Linked DNA regions of Homo sapiens: region 2 is linked to region 1. The links are contacts of gene promoters, found by promoter capture Hi-C in blood cells and fetal thymus (Javierre and others, 2016). All regions are on one chromosome and are shown on one strand. Each heading gives the region's core, a stretch centred on a gene start or on the middle of the fragment in contact. The rest is flanking DNA. Distances are from core to core; before and after follow the strand shown.

What was found. Contacts are between HindIII fragments. The CHiCAGO score rates a contact against its expected background, and 5 or more counts as called.
Region 2: a fragment that was not itself captured here is called in contact with the fragment with the promoter of TMEM209 in region 1 in 1 of 17 cell types (naive CD8 T cells); the score reaches 5.4 in naive CD8 T cells.

What each region holds. Positions count from the first base shown.
Region 1 is chr7:130,204,031-130,206,811 of GRCh38, reverse strand. TMEM209 (transmembrane protein 209) reads left to right here and starts at 1,406. Exons shown (of 15, transcript NM_032842.4): 1 at 1,406-1,439; 2 at 2,702-2,781. The coding sequence starts at 1,437. It also overlaps a transcript of SSMEM1 not described here. RefSeq lists enhancers at 1,142-1,251, 1,312-1,491, 1,168-1,967 and a silencer at 2,629-2,781. The HindIII fragment of the contact is 16,046 bases long and covers 1-2,781 here.
Region 2 is chr7:130,764,854-130,767,634 of GRCh38, reverse strand. The region is part of intron 3 of LOC105375508 (a long non-coding RNA gene); the gene reads right to left. Among named protein-coding and RNA genes, the nearest start is that of KLF14, 32 kb to the right of the region's middle. The HindIII fragment of the contact is 4,409 bases long and covers 1-2,781 here.

The DNA of each region.
Region 1 (2,781 bases), core at 157-2,656:
GGTTTCAGCGTCTTGGCCAGGCTGGTCTCCATCTCCTGACCTCGTGATCCGCCCGCCTCGGCCTCCCAAAGTGTTGGGATTACAGGCGTGAGCCACCGCGCCCGGCCGGTATTCTAATTTTGATTGCACCTTGAGCCCTTTCACTTTGAACAATTTTCCAGTTAGTTCATCTCTAAATCTAAAACTAGAGCAAAACAACATTGCTGCTAAAGCAATCTAAAAATGATAAAACTTAACAGCTCTTCAAGAGCACAGCATACCTGCCGATTTTCATTAATATACAATACCACGTGGTATTAATCTTAGGATCATTTTAGGAAAAACTTTGGCCATTGGACATACATGATGTAATCCACTAGCTTACTGTGGCATGGCTTAATGTTTTTATTAGGAGGCACACTTCAGAACAAGTCCCCAGGCCCTGGGTTTCTGGCTGTGGACTCTAACGCGTCATCTCCTCCAGGAAGCTCGCGAGAGCTGGGGCTGGGCTGGATGCGCCTCCTTGGGGAGCACTGCATCCACCTCACCTGCCACCGAAATGCATCTGTGGGCCTCCGCTGGGGTTGAGCTCCTCTGGGTAATAACCAGGAAGGTCTTATTTTCTATATCCGTGCGCCTGGCTCAGCGGCACACTTGTAGGTATTTGTGCTAAATAAAACAAAGCTCAACCTTTTCCTCAGGATGAGCAGCTCTTCCAAAAAATACATACGAAAATGTGTTATTATTTTTAACCTCAAAACCACTAGCAACTTCAATAAAACAAATTTTGGGTGTGCTTGTTATTGCTGCACCCTATTAAACAGATTAAGAATTTAGGCCGGGCGCGGTGGGCCACGCCTGTAATCCCAAAAGGCGGTGGGAGGCCAGCAGGCGTTTGGGAGGCTGAGGCGGGCGGATCCCTTGAGGTTAGGAAATCGAGACCAGACTGGCCAACATGGCGAAACCCTGTCTCTACCAAAAAAAAAATTACATGGGGTCAGGACTCTTGACATAGATACTTTAACACAGGGGAAAGAAATGCTTTGTCACTGATGGTGTCTGGCCACTTTATCACGCCACTCTATCCTACGGTGAGCCGCCCTACTTAATCAGTTTACACATGTGAGTCCATAAATGCCCTAGGGAAGCTAAAATTATATTAATAGATACAAAATTCAGCTTGTTACAATTATTACTTTTTACTGCGGGTTCAGAGCCTGGTCTGAATTTTGCTGCTTAGCTTTCTCCCGCAGCTGAGTGGGAGCCGCAAAACCGAGACCTGTTTCCCTGGTAACGCTCCGAGCGCCTGGGCCTGCGACCCCTCCCTTTCTCGCGAGAAGAGACTACCTAGTTCTTCCGGTAACTTTAGAGCCGCTTGCCGGTGGCCTCCCGCTTGAGCTTGGCTTTGCGCATGCCCAGAGAGAGTGGCGCGAGCCTGCGTTTTCCGGCCAGAGGACATGGTGCGTTTTCGGGGTCGTGTTTGTGCTTCCTGTCTTGGAATCTACGCGGGTTGTGGGAGTTCCGCGCCTGCTGATCTGTCCTGGGTTCAGCCAAGGGGGATGTGGCTAGGCGTTCCGCCTCTCTAGGGGAAGGGAAGAAAGAAGCAATAGGGTTGCTGAAGTTCGTGCCCAGGAGCCGGGGAGGGAAGCTCTGGACTGGGAAATTGGGACGCGGGGGCTGAGTGGCGCGAAAGCTATTGCTCTGTCCTCTGTGGGATACGACTGCTTGTCGCTGGAACAAGTTTTGCACGGTCTGTAAGAGTTGAGCCTAGCTGAAGAAAGGAGGAATTATAAATCCCAAATGTGGACCAAAACAATGCACGTTTTCCCCTCTCTCCCTCTTACTCCGCTCACCACCCCATCATAAGTACGTGCCCTTCTAAAACTTGGATCCTTGTCCTTTATCCACACACAAAAGGGAGAGCCCTGGAGTACAGCTGTCCAAGTGCAGAGTTGTTGAGATAGTAATGGCGTCTGCATGAGGATGTACAACAGTCTTTATGACTTACAGCAGATATGGAATATAGTCTCCCAAAACTTGACATTTTGAGTTTCTGAAGTTAGCCTTTTGCCTAGTCCGTGTAACATACCCCAAAGACAAAATACAAAGTATTTCTAGACATAACCCTTAAATTACAAAATAAGACATTTTTATGTATTGGAAGTATTAAATTGTTCTTAAATAACCAGCCACGGCTGGGCGCGGTGGCTCACGCCTGTAATCCCAACACTTTGGGAGGCCGAGGCGGGTGGATCACAAGGTCAGGAGTTCGAGACCAGCCTGGCCAAAATGTTGAAATCCCGTCTCTACTAAAAATACAAAAATCAGTCGGACGCGGTGGCGGGCGTCTGTAATCCCAGCTACTCGGGAGTCTGAGGCAGGAGAATCGCTTGAACCCGGGAGGCGGAGGTTGCAGTGAGTCGAGATCGCGCCACTGCATTCTAGCCTGGGAGACAGCAAGACTCCGTCTCAAAACAAATAAATAGATAAATAACCAGCCACTTCTCTGTTGATTACACTGTGATGCCAATTAAGTTACATATAATTTTGGGTTCCCTTTTCATATACTGATATTAAAATGGAAGAAGTTTTGATAAAACATTTTAAAGATGAGAGAAGGTATATGCGGTTTCAGTTACCTTTATAAGGGATGCAAAATTTGGTTTTTAAATGGAGCAATAGTTTCTTCTGGTTAATTCCTGTGCTTTTTGTTTTTTCATAGATGCAGGGGGAGGCACACCCTAGTGCTTCCCTTATTGACAGAACCATCAAGATGAGAAAAGAAACAGAGGCTAGGAAAGT
Region 2 (2,781 bases), core at 164-2,663, 560 kb before region 1:
ACCACCATGCCCAGCTAATTTTTTTTTTTTTTTGGTTTTTTGTTAGTAGAGACAGGGTTTCACTATGTTGCCCAGGCTGGTCTGGAACTCCTGACCTCAAGTTATCTGCTCACCTCAGCCTCCCAAAGTGCTGCGATTACAAGCATGAGCCAGTATGCCTGGCCTCACTTCACTTTTAAGGACATACATTGATTGAAAGTGAAAATATTGAGAAAGATAATCCATGAAAATGGAAACCAAAAGAGAACAGAGGTAACTAACCTCGTATCAGATAAAACAGACTTTAAGTTGACACTATAAAGTGAAACAAAGAAGGTCATTATATAATGATTACAAGGCCAATTAATCAAGAAGATATAATGATTGTAAATATATATGCACCCAACATTGGAGCACCTAAATAAATAAAGCTCACCTCTATGCAAATAAACTAGAAAATATAGAAGAAACGGATAAATAACAGGACACATACACCCTCCCAAGACTAAACCAGGAAGAAGCTGAATCTCTGAACAGACCAATAACAGGTTCTGAAATTGAGGCAATAATTACTAACCTACCAACCAAAAAAAGTCCAGGACCAGACAGATTCACAGCTGAATTCTACCAGAGGTACAAAGAGGAGATGCTTCCATTCCTTCTGAAACGATTCCAGTCAATAGAAAAAGAGGGAATCTCCCTAACTCATTTCATGAGGCCAGGATCATCCTGATACCAAAGCACGGCAGAGACACAACAAAAAAAGAGAACTTTAGGCCAATATCCCTTATGAATATCAACGCAAAAATCCTCAATAAAATACTGGTAAACTGAATCCAGCAGCACATCAAAATGCTTATCCACCACGATCAACTTGGCTTCATCCCTGGGATGCAAGGCTGGTTCAACATATGCAAATCAATAAATGTAATCCATCACATAAACAGAACCAATGACAAAAAACACGATTATCTCAATAGACGCAGAAAAGGCCTTTGCCAAAATTCAGCAGCCCTTCATGCTAAAAATTCTCAGACTAGGTATTGATGGAACATATCTCAAAATAATAGGAGTTATTTATGACAAACCCACAGCCAAATCATACTGAATGGGCAAAACCTGGAAGCACTCCCTTTGAAAACTGGCACAAGACAAGGATGCCTCTCTCACCACTCCTATTCAACATGGTGTTGGAAGTTCTGGCCAGGACAATCAGGCAAGAGAAAGAAATAAAGGGTATTCAATTAGGAAAATAGGAAATCAAATTGTCTGTTTGCAGATGACATGATTGTATACTTAGAAAACCCCATCGTCTCAGCCAAAATCTCCTTAAGATGATAAGCAACTTCAGCAAAGTCTCAGGATACAAAACCACTGTGCAAAAATCACAAACATTCCTATACACCAATAACAGAGAGCCAAATCATGAGTGAACTCGCATCCACAATTGCTACTAAGAGAATAAAATACCTTGGAATCCAACTTACAACGGGTGTGAAGGAACTCTTCAAGGATAACTACAAACCACTGCTCAAGGAAATAAAAGAGGACACAAACAAATAGATAAACATTCCACGCTCATGGAGAGGCAGAATCAGTATTGTGAAAATGGCCATACTGCCCAAAGTAATTTATAGATTCAATGCTATCCCCATCAAGCTACCACTGAATTTCTTCACAGAATTGAAAAAAAAACTACTTTAAACTTCATATGGAACCAAACAGGAGCCCACATAGCCAAGACAATATTGGGGAAGAAGAACAAAGCTCAAGGCATCACACTACCTGACTTCAAACTATACTACAAGGCCATAGTAACCAAAACAGCATGGTACTGGTACTAAAACAGATATATAGACCAACAGAACAGAACGGAGGCCTCAGAAACAATGCCACACAGCTACAACCATCTGATCTTTGACAAACCTGACACACACAAGCAATGGGGAAAAAGATTTCCTATTTAACAAATGGTGTTGGGAAAACTGGCTAGCCATATGCAGAAAACGGAAATGCCCTTACCCCTTCTACAAAAATCAACTCAAGATGGATCAAAGACTTAGACATAAGACCCAGGACCATAACAATCTTAGAAGAAAACCTGGGCAATACCATCAGGACATAGGCATGGGCAAAGACTTAACGTCCAAAACACCAAAAGCAATGGCAACAAAAGACAAAATTGACAAACAGGATCTAATTAAACTAAAGAGCTTCTGCATAGCAAAGGAACCTATCATCAGAGTGAACAGACAACCTACAGGATGGGAGAAAATTTGTGCAATCTATCCATCTGACAAAGGGCTAATATCCAGAATCTACAAAGAACTTAACCAAATTTACCAGGAAAAAACAACCCCATCAAAAAATGGGCAAAGGATATGAACAGATACTTATGAAAAGAAGACATTTATGCAGCCAACAGACATATGAAAAAATGCTCATCATCACTGGCCATTAGAGAAATGCAAATCAAAACCACAGTGAGAAACCATTTCACACCAGTTAGAATGGCAATCATTAAAAAGTCAGGAAACAACAGGTGCTGGAGAGGATGTGGAGAAATAGGAACGCTTTTACACTGTCGGTGGGAGTGTAAATTAGTTCAACCATTGTGGAAAACAGTGTGGCGAGTCCTCAAGGATCTAGAACTAGAAATACCATTTGACCCAGCAATCCCATTACTGGGCATATACCCAAAGGATTATAAATCATTCTACGATAAAGACACAGGCACACATGTTTACTGCAGCACTATTCACAATAGCAAAGACTTGGAACCAACCCAAATGTCCATCAATG